2 separate regions of the Homo sapiens genome follow, and region 2 is linked to region 1. The links are contacts of gene promoters, found by promoter capture Hi-C in blood cells and fetal thymus (Javierre and others, 2016). All regions are on one chromosome and are shown on one strand. The core of a region is centred on a gene start or on the middle of the fragment in contact, and the rest is flanking DNA. Distances in the headings are between cores, read along the strand shown.

What was found. The method cuts DNA at HindIII sites, captures the fragments that hold promoters and counts their contacts. A CHiCAGO score of 5 or more calls a contact.
Region 2: a contact is called between a fragment that was not itself captured here and the fragment with the promoter of TMEM123 in region 1, in 5 of 17 cell types (monocytes, M1 macrophages, M0 macrophages and 2 more). The highest score is 10.4, in monocytes.

What each region holds. Positions count from the first base shown.
Region 1 is chr11:102,450,001-102,454,521 of GRCh38, reverse strand. TMEM123 (transmembrane protein 123) reads left to right here and starts at 1,757. Exons shown (of 5, transcript NM_052932.3): 1 at 1,757-1,998. The coding sequence starts at 1,899. It overlaps TMEM123-DT (TMEM123 divergent transcript), which reads right to left and starts at 1,603. Exons shown (of 2, transcript NR_135053.1): 1 at 1,473-1,603. RefSeq lists enhancers at 1,394-1,503, 2,234-2,523, 2,704-2,753 and a silencer at 1,624-1,913. The HindIII fragment of the contact is 13,483 bases long and covers 1-4,521 here.
Region 2 is chr11:102,710,611-102,715,131 of GRCh38, reverse strand. It overlaps MMP8 (matrix metallopeptidase 8), which reads left to right. Exons shown (of 10, transcript NM_002424.3): 8 at 423-576; 9 at 1,275-1,378; 10 at 1,675-3,336. The coding sequence ends at 1,784. Among named protein-coding and RNA genes, the nearest start is that of MMP27, 7.1 kb to the right of the region's middle. The HindIII fragment of the contact is 1,540 bases long and covers 1,029-2,568 here.

The DNA.
Region 1 (4,521 bases), core at 508-3,007:
TATAGGCACGTCCCACCACGCCCAGATAATTGTATTTTTAGTAGAGGCGGGGTTTCACCATGTTGGTCAGGCTGGTCTTCAACTCCTGACCTCAAACGATCTACCCTTCTCAGCCTCCCAAAGTGCTGGGATTACAGGCATGAGCCACTATGCCCACCCAAGTCCCACATCTTATTATCATCACCTTGAGGATTAGGTTTCAACACATGAATGTGGTGGGGATATAAACATCCAGACCTCTTATTCCACCCCAGATTCCCAGGCTATAAGTACACTGAGCCTTAAAGGAAGTATTAGCTGTGGGTTGGTGAAGAGAATTCCAGAAGGAAAGAACAACGTATGCAAATGCCAGGAACCAGAAAGCACCCTTCTCCATGGGCAACAGAACCAAGGCTGGAAAGACAGGTTGGGCCTAGATTGGGAAATGCTTGGATAATGGGGTAGTCACCAGAACGGTTTATTCCTAAACCAGATTCCCCAGTTAAATAGAATAACCAAAATCGAAATGTGCAATGCTTGCTTTTTGTCCATGATAAGCTGCAGGGGAAACATTTGCAGGTTGGCTGACTGAATCCACAGATGGAAGTCTCTGTAAATTTAGGACAGATTGTCTCAGTTAATCTCTAGGACCAGTCAGACCTCTGTAATGATGGATTTGCCTGACATGAGAAAGTTCTACCTCTCATAACACAGTTTTCAAAAGTTAACTGCAATGTGGCCTTTATGTGATGAAATCTGGCTCAGGTGCCAAAGATCTGCAACATTAAGACCTTTGCAGGTGGGGATTCACTGTGATTTTAGGTTCCTTGGATCCTTCAGTCTTCTACTTCAGCTGAGGGTTCCCACCCAAGCCAGGACTCAGCCTTTGTTATTCTCATGCATTAGCCACAGGTAGCTATGTCACTTCAGAGTTCTGAGCACGATGAAAATGCAGACTTTACAAGCACTTCAAGTCAAGACAAGTGATTAGCATTGGCTCCAAGGGTTTAAAAGGAACTCAGCCAAAAACTGTTCAAAACTGGCCATTTCATCTGAACTGGGACAGCAGGGCACAAGGAGAGAAAAGGCTGGTTGGATTAATGCAGCCCCCGCTTTCCATGGCTCTACTGTATTTCACTGAGAGTTGCTACCAACTCCTGCGCGCGCCCCCACCCGCCCACTCCACTAATCTCGTGTCTTAATCAGAGATACAGGGAACCCGTGGAGAAGATGAAGTACAACTGGGATAAGAAGATCGTAGGTGTTTTACGTTTGAATTTAAGCAACAAATCTGTCGAGCTGTTTTTCTCCACTTCCCCCTTAGGCTGGGTCACGCGAGGGGAAAGCTCCGACCGCCCAGGACTCCTTAGAGTGAATCCCATCCCCTCAAGTTCCTCTCCAGAATCTCCCCCTCCTCCCGCCTTTGCCCTGCAACTCCTCCCTCTCACTCTGAGTCGCACGCACCCCTGTCCCCTCCCTGCCCGCAAAACTACTCTTCAAAGGCTTCCTTCCGGGCACCGCGAAGCCAGCGTGCTCAGCATTCAGGGAGGCAGCGGCGCTCGCCTTCATCCAGGACAACAAAACTGCCATTTCCGAAGAGAAAGGAAACGGCTCGCGGTTTCTGGGGTTCCCAAGCGCGCGCCTGCGAGGGAGGCCGCGAGCCGAGTCGCCACGCCCAGAACCCCGAGCCCGCCCCCGCGCCACCCAGCCCGGCCCCGCCGCCCCGGCTGCGCACGCGACGCCCCCTCCAGGCCCCGCTCCTGCGCCCTATTTGGTCATTCGGGGGGCAAGCGGCGGGAGGGGAAACGTGCGCGGCCGAAGGGGAAGCGGAGCCGGCGCCGGCTGCGCAGAGGAGCCGCTCTCGCCGCCGCCACCTCGGCTGGGAGCCCACGAGGCTGCCGCATCCTGCCCTCGGAACAATGGGACTCGGCGCGCGAGGTGCTTGGGCCGCGCTGCTCCTGGGGACGCTGCAGGTGCTAGCGCTGCTGGGGGCCGCCCATGAAAGCGCAGCCATGGCGGGTAAGTGGCTGCGGGGGTCGTCAGCCCCGTTCGTGGGAGGCAGCGCGCTGCCGAGGCTTGGGTTCCCAAGTTGGGCTCTGGTACAGAAAGTTCCGCGTGTGTCTGGCCGAACGCTCGGGGCGGACCCAGAGGTGACCGGGCGGGGTGGGGGAAACTGAGGTTTGGACCAGTCACCCGCTGGCCCCGGGGCCGCCTGCTGAGGAAATTGCCTGGTGCTTCCCCTCTCGCTTTTTGGATGCGGCGGTCGCAGGCCGGGACGGGTGCGCATAACCTGTTGAGTTACCGCAAGTTGGTTTTTACAGCCTTTCCCTGAAGTTAATGTTTGCCGAGGTTAGAGTTTCTAAGGCTTCCGTTTGTAAACAAGATTAGCTGAGTTGAAAAATATGTCTACCTAGGCCCGCGGAAACGTCTCCCAGTTAGTCGGGGAGCTTTTCAAGCGTCCCCCAGGCATTTCAGCGTCTAATATTATGCAGTATTATCCAGATGAATTACAATCTTTAGGTCCCCCTGACGCTCGAAGTTAGACTTCGGGGCTCTTGGAGCTAGTTGGGAGCTTTTGGGGAGCGCGCCCCGCCCTCGCGGTAGTTGAGGCGGCCGCCCCCATGGCGGGGCGCTCTCCACCCCTCGTGTGCCATAAACACCCGGCCGAGGCGCGCGGCAGCTGCGCAGCGTTAAGGGCACAGCTGCACGGTCGCCGGTGGCCCTTGTCGTCGCTAGTAAGGTCGTAACAGGATGATGTTGACTTTGCTTTTCTGTGTAGGGCGGAATTTGTTTCGTTTTAGGCCCTTGGCCCTTTGGAGACTTCAAACAGCCCTTTTTGGATGAAACCAGGAAGTTGGGATTTGTTGTGTAAATACTGTTTTCCTTTGTCAACTGTTAGAGAAGTCAGGTCCCTAGGTAATGGTCAGTAAACTAGGATAAGTTAAGTAACCCAAGGTTTTCATGGTTTTAAGTTCTATCCATCCACTGTATATGTTAGCCTTAGGTTCGTTTTATCCAGCAAAAGAAAAAGGCAGTTTGTAAATCTGGAAGGTTCAGGCACAACACTTGCTTTTTCTGGAATAACCTGGGTGAATTAACAATTTTTCTTTGTTTTGCTGAAGTTTTTTTGTTTGCTTAATTGTGCGTGTGACAAACTGGCTTCGCAGACCTAATTTTGAGATCATTTAAGAAAAAAAGTGGTAAAATCATGTCCATCGTGTATCTTGGTCCTAATTTTATACCAATTATCTCATGAGGTGAGGTCTCCATTTTTAAAAATTTGTTGCTGTGTTTGTGAAGATAAGCCTTACTGTTTCAATGAATTACCGATTAGAGAAACTGTGAGTGACCATGCTTTTCTTTCTTTTGCCCTGATAACACAGATTTTTTTTGCCCTATTTTAGCACTGTTTGTTCTGTTTATTACTTAATGTCTTACTAGAGGTTAGTCCCATTTGCAAAACTTGAAATGCTCTACAGTAGGCGAGCCCTGAATTCATAAACTAGTATAACCAACCAGAGGTGGAATCTGTTTCTACAGACTATATAATGTCACCTTGCAACTAGACTAAAAGGTATACAATAGAAGATTTCTCAAAAAAGCTAGTAACTGTTAATCGTAGTCTTCATGTATAGTGTAATCTGTATACAATGTCATTACGAAGTATAGTGATTTTTAGCCATCATACTAAAACTCTTAATGGCTGATTTTTACTGGGTACATATTCTGTGCATCCCACGCTATGCTAATTTAGGTCCATAAATCATCCCATTGAATCCTCACAGTATCGTCCCCATTTTATAGATAAGTAAGCTAATTTATGGCAAGTAAAACAATTAATACATGTTTGGTTTCAGATCAAAATCCAAATTTTCAATTAACCATTTCACCACTAAGCCGCGTTAGATGATGATGGCTCTTGAAGTAGATAATACTTTTATTCCACAGTATTACCATTGCCTAGAATATTGTGGGAGAAGATAAAAACATTATTGAAATTCTGCTTTTAAAATATTCTTCACAGTCAGCTGCATAGCTTTATAAATATCAGTTGAAGGAGGAGGGAGACTATGAGCAAGTTTGCAAATCAGCAAACAGGATTTATTGTAGTATTCCAATGAATGACATTAACATTAACAGGATGGGAGGGGCGGCTGTTAGTCATTACTCTTAGTGGCAAGTGACAGAAACCCACCTTGAACAACTGTGGAAAGAAGGGACTTTTTTGACTTGTAACTGAAAAGTGCAAGGATTGAGGTGGCTTGAAAATGGCTGTATTCAAGTGTTCAAATAAGTCGCCAAGAAATTAAGAAATCATCGCGTTAAGAGCGACAATAGCAGGGAAACAAAAACAGGCTGTTGTGTTAGCCCAGCCAAAAGATGATGGTGAGTGGCAATGGAGATAAAAGGGTGGATTCTAGATCTATGGGGGGTTGGGACTAATCACTTGCTGATGGATTGGAGGGTGGGATGAGGAAGAGAGAAGAATCAAAGGATGACCTCTTGGTTTTGGGGTTGAGCAGCTGGTAATGCAACAATTGG
Region 2 (4,521 bases), core at 549-3,048, 260 kb before region 1:
TGAGTGGGTTATTTGCTTTTCAGCCCTCAGTTTTCTCACCAACAAAATGAGACCACACTAGACTGTCGTTAGCATTCTTTCATCCTCATCCCAGATACAATTCTCTAAGACTCCTCAAGCTGTAATTTGGTTTCTGCATAAAAGTCACACAAACTAAGGCATCCAATTGTGGGGCCTTGAATGTCTTGCTCAGAAGTTTTTATTTTTTATAGGCTCTGGGGAACCATTAAGGCTCTCACAGCCCCCCTGAACTTAACTTTATCATCTTCATCTTTTAAAGACTATTTGTTCCATTTTCATATCTATGTGCAAGACCAAGAAGTGGTATATATATATATATATATATATATATATATATATATATATATAATTTTGTAAAAATGGAAAAGTCGTATTTAACACTTAACCTGAATCATTGACAGGCAACCAATACTGGGCTCTGAGTGGCTATGATATTCTGCAAGGTTATCCCAAGGATATATCAAACTATGGCTTCCCCAGCAGCGTCCAAGCAATTGACGCAGCTGTTTTCTACAGAAGTAAAACATACTTCTTTGTAAATGACCAATTCTGGAGGTAACGTAAACTATTTTTTCAATTATAGGTTGAAATCTGTGTTTCTCTACCCTGCTTACAAACCTTCAAGCATTTCAAGGTTTAAAACAATCTAGATAGTCTCTAATAGGTTTTACCGAGAATATATTCTTTTTTACAGGATGATTGATGTTACCATGGCTTTTGAAATTTTTCATTTCTATAAAATTAAAATGTCTATGCAATAGTATTGAGGATTCTGCATCAAGAAACAAAGAAAACCTTAACAAAGCACTAGGGTGAGATACAAAGAAAGATTTAAGCTAATTCTCACTTATGAGTTCAACTCAGACATATGCAAGCAAATGTTATCCAGATAGCCTGCAGAATTTGGTTCCCAAGTTGAACCTATTATGTATGTTTATATATCTATATACACACACAAGGGAGTTATACTATATACCAATTAAGTAAAAGCCTTGAAAATATAAGCTTACTTTGGGTAATAACAGTGTGTCAGCCATCAAGCCTGTTTTAGAATTAATGATAACCATATGTTTTATAAATGTGTACCCTTAGGTAGAGAAATTAACCATTCTTAATCCTAGTAAACAGGGCATTGTGAGAACTGAATGAAAAAATATGTGTGAGGAGACTTTGTAAATTATATACAATAAAAAAAATTTTTTTCGTTATATTCTGTATTGGTGTTAAATCGGATAACATTTTGTTTTTACCAGATATGATAACCAAAGACAATTCATGGAGCCAGGTTATCCCAAAAGCATATCAGGTGCCTTTCCAGGAATAGAGAGTAAAGTTGATGCAGTTTTCCAGCAAGAACGTAAGTAGGAAAAAAAAACCTAATAAATGTGTTGTTTGTTTGTTTATTATAGAGGAGACAGGGTCTTACTATGCTGACCAGGTTAGTGTCAAACTCCTGGCCTCAAGCAATCCTCCCACCTCAGCCTCCCAGAGTTCTGGGATTACAGGCATTAGCCACCGCACCTGGTGTTTAAATTTTTTAAATAGCATGTTTGCATTTGAATGTTATGTTGGAACAGGGGCAGGGTTTTCTAACTGAAGACATCTGAGATATTCTATAAGCTAATTCAATAAATTATCTCTCTTTTTTTATAGATTTCTTCCATGTCTTCAGTGGACCAAGATATTACGCATTTGATCTTATTGCTCAGAGAGTTACCAGAGTTGCAAGAGGCAATAAATGGCTTAACTGTAGATATGGCTGAAGCAAAATCAAATGTGGCTGTATCCACTTTCAGAATGTTGAAGGGAAGTTCAGCAAGCATTTTCGTTACATTGTGTCCTGCTTATACTTTTCTCAATATTAAGTCATTGTTTCCCATCACTGTATCCATTCTACCTGTCCTCCGTGAAAATATGTTTGGAATATTCCACTATTTGCAGAGGCTTATTCAGTTCTTACACATTCCATCTTACATTAGTGATTCCATCAAAGAGAAGGAAAGTAAGCCTTTTTGTCACCTCAATATTTACTATTTCAATACTTACATATCTGACTTCTAGGATTTATTGTTATATTACTTGCCTATCTGACTTCATACATCCCTCAGTTTCTTAAAATGTCCTATGTATATCTTCTACATGCAATTTAGAACTAGATTTTGGTTAGAAGTAAGGATTATAAACAACCTAGACAGTACCCTTGGCCTTTACAGAAAATATGGTGCTGTTTTCTACCCTTGGAAAGAAATGTAGATGATATGTTTCGTGGGTTGAATTGTGTCCCCCATAAAAGATATGTTGAAGTTCTAACCCCAGGTACCCATGAATGTGAGCTTACCAGGGTCTTTGCAGATGTAATTAGTTAAGTTAAGGTGAGATCACACTGAATTAGGGTGGGCTCTAAATCCATTATGACTGTTGTTCTTATAAGAAGAAGAGAGGCATAGTCACCTAGGGGAGGAGGCCGTATGAAGACAGAGGCAGAGATTGGAGTGACGCATCTCCAAGCCAAGGAATTCCAAGGACTGTAAGCCACCAGTAGAAGCTTTGAAGAGGCAAGGAAGGATTCCCTCCAATAGCCTTCAAGTGTGACCCTGCTGACACCTGCAGAATTCGGACTTCTATCCTCCAAAACCGTGAGGGAATAAATTTCCTTTGTTTTAAGCCACCAACTTTGCAATACTTTGTTACAGCAACCCTAGACATGAGGTACTAGACACAGTACATCTACACATATGAAAATGAATCAACACAGAATGCAGAAGTAGAACCCTTGCTAAGGACTACTGGGCATCTTCCCAGGACAGCAGCCAAAAGAGAACCACCACTTCCTCTCCTGCCTCCTCCTTGCTCTCTCCTAGAGTCCAAACCCAAATGGGCCAGTTGGATCTGATGTTCGTCAGTTCTTTACTTCTATTTCCTGGGGTACTCAGGAGGGCACACACTATAGATAACTTGGGTTAGCTGCATAAAATTCAATGTCTCATTAAGTTGCATTAAACTGAGCTTAGATGTGTAAGTTTGCTAACGGATGGGTTTTTTTGTTAAGAACTATAGGATTTATGGGACCAAGTCTAGCGAGTCCAGATATCAAAATCATTATAATGTTATATTTGCTGTTATTAGAATATAATATAGCTTATTATACAATAAATATGTAGACTGTAAAATATATTTCTCACTAGTACCTCCTATTTTCTTTCTCTGTTGAAGTTTTTAAATCCCACAGATAATTAAATTGGCACCTTTATGCTTGTTCAAAAATTAAAATAATCTATTAAATAAGTTCAAATTAAAGATTTTTACTTCAAATGACTGATTTGTGATTTGCTTTTAATTTCTTAAAATGTTACCACATAATTCATCTAAAGTATAAAAAGGAATAGCAAATTTTAGATGTTGTGCAGATATATAATGCTTGTGTCAGAATTATTATAATATTGATAATAAACTTTAGATATTGCTTCAGAGTGTGTGAAATATTTTATAAATATTTGAGGTCCTCAAAAATTTCCTCAAGTATGTTAATACATTATTCTCAAATTATTTTACAAAATAAGAAAACTGAAACAAGTATATATTATCATTCCATTCATTGATTTATTCAGCAAGAATTAACTACCTACCTACTATTAATTATGTTTCAGGGACTGTGCTAAGAAAAGTGAGAGAGATGTATAAGCGATTCATCATATCAACGTAACAAATGCAAAAGGATCTATAAGAATTGAATATTCCATTTTTAATAGTAGCATCAATTTCAGACTATCATGTTTCCTAAAACTTTCTATAATGCCAGTTATGAAAGTTTTAGGAAAATGCAGGCATGAAAATGAGTGTCTTATCTTCTCAGAACACCTGCTAGTTGTGCTGGCTATGATAGACTCTTGGCTCAAACCTCATCTATACATCTTTGAGATGAGGACTGATCTCATACTATTTTTTAACCACATTTGACAGAGTCATAGACAGTAAACTGTAATATGAAGTGTAATAAAGAATTCAGAGTTATTCCTTTTAAAAAAATTATCTTGTTGACAACATGTAGTATTTTCCAGCTATTACATTGATATTTTGAATGGGCACAAGAGATATAAAGACCTAAGCTTAGAATGCATTTATTTATTTTTTGTTTATTTATTTATTTTTGAGACAGGGTCTTGCTCTGTCACCCAGGCTGGTGTACAGTGGTGCAATCACAACTCACTGCAGCCTCAAACCCCTGGCCTCAAGCAATGCCCCACCTTAGCCTTTCAAGTATTTGGGACTACAGGCACACACCACCACACTCAGTTATTTTCTTTTGTAAAGGTGGGGTCCCACTACATTTCCCAGGCTTGTCTCAAACTCCTGGGCTCAAGTGATCCTCCTGCCTCGGCCTCCCAAAGCGCTGGGATTACAGGCTTGAGCCACCATGCCACCCTGCCTAAGCTAGAATTTAAACAATGAGATTCATGTTTATCTTAGGTTGAGATTCTTCAAAAGCAAAGCCTAAGTCAA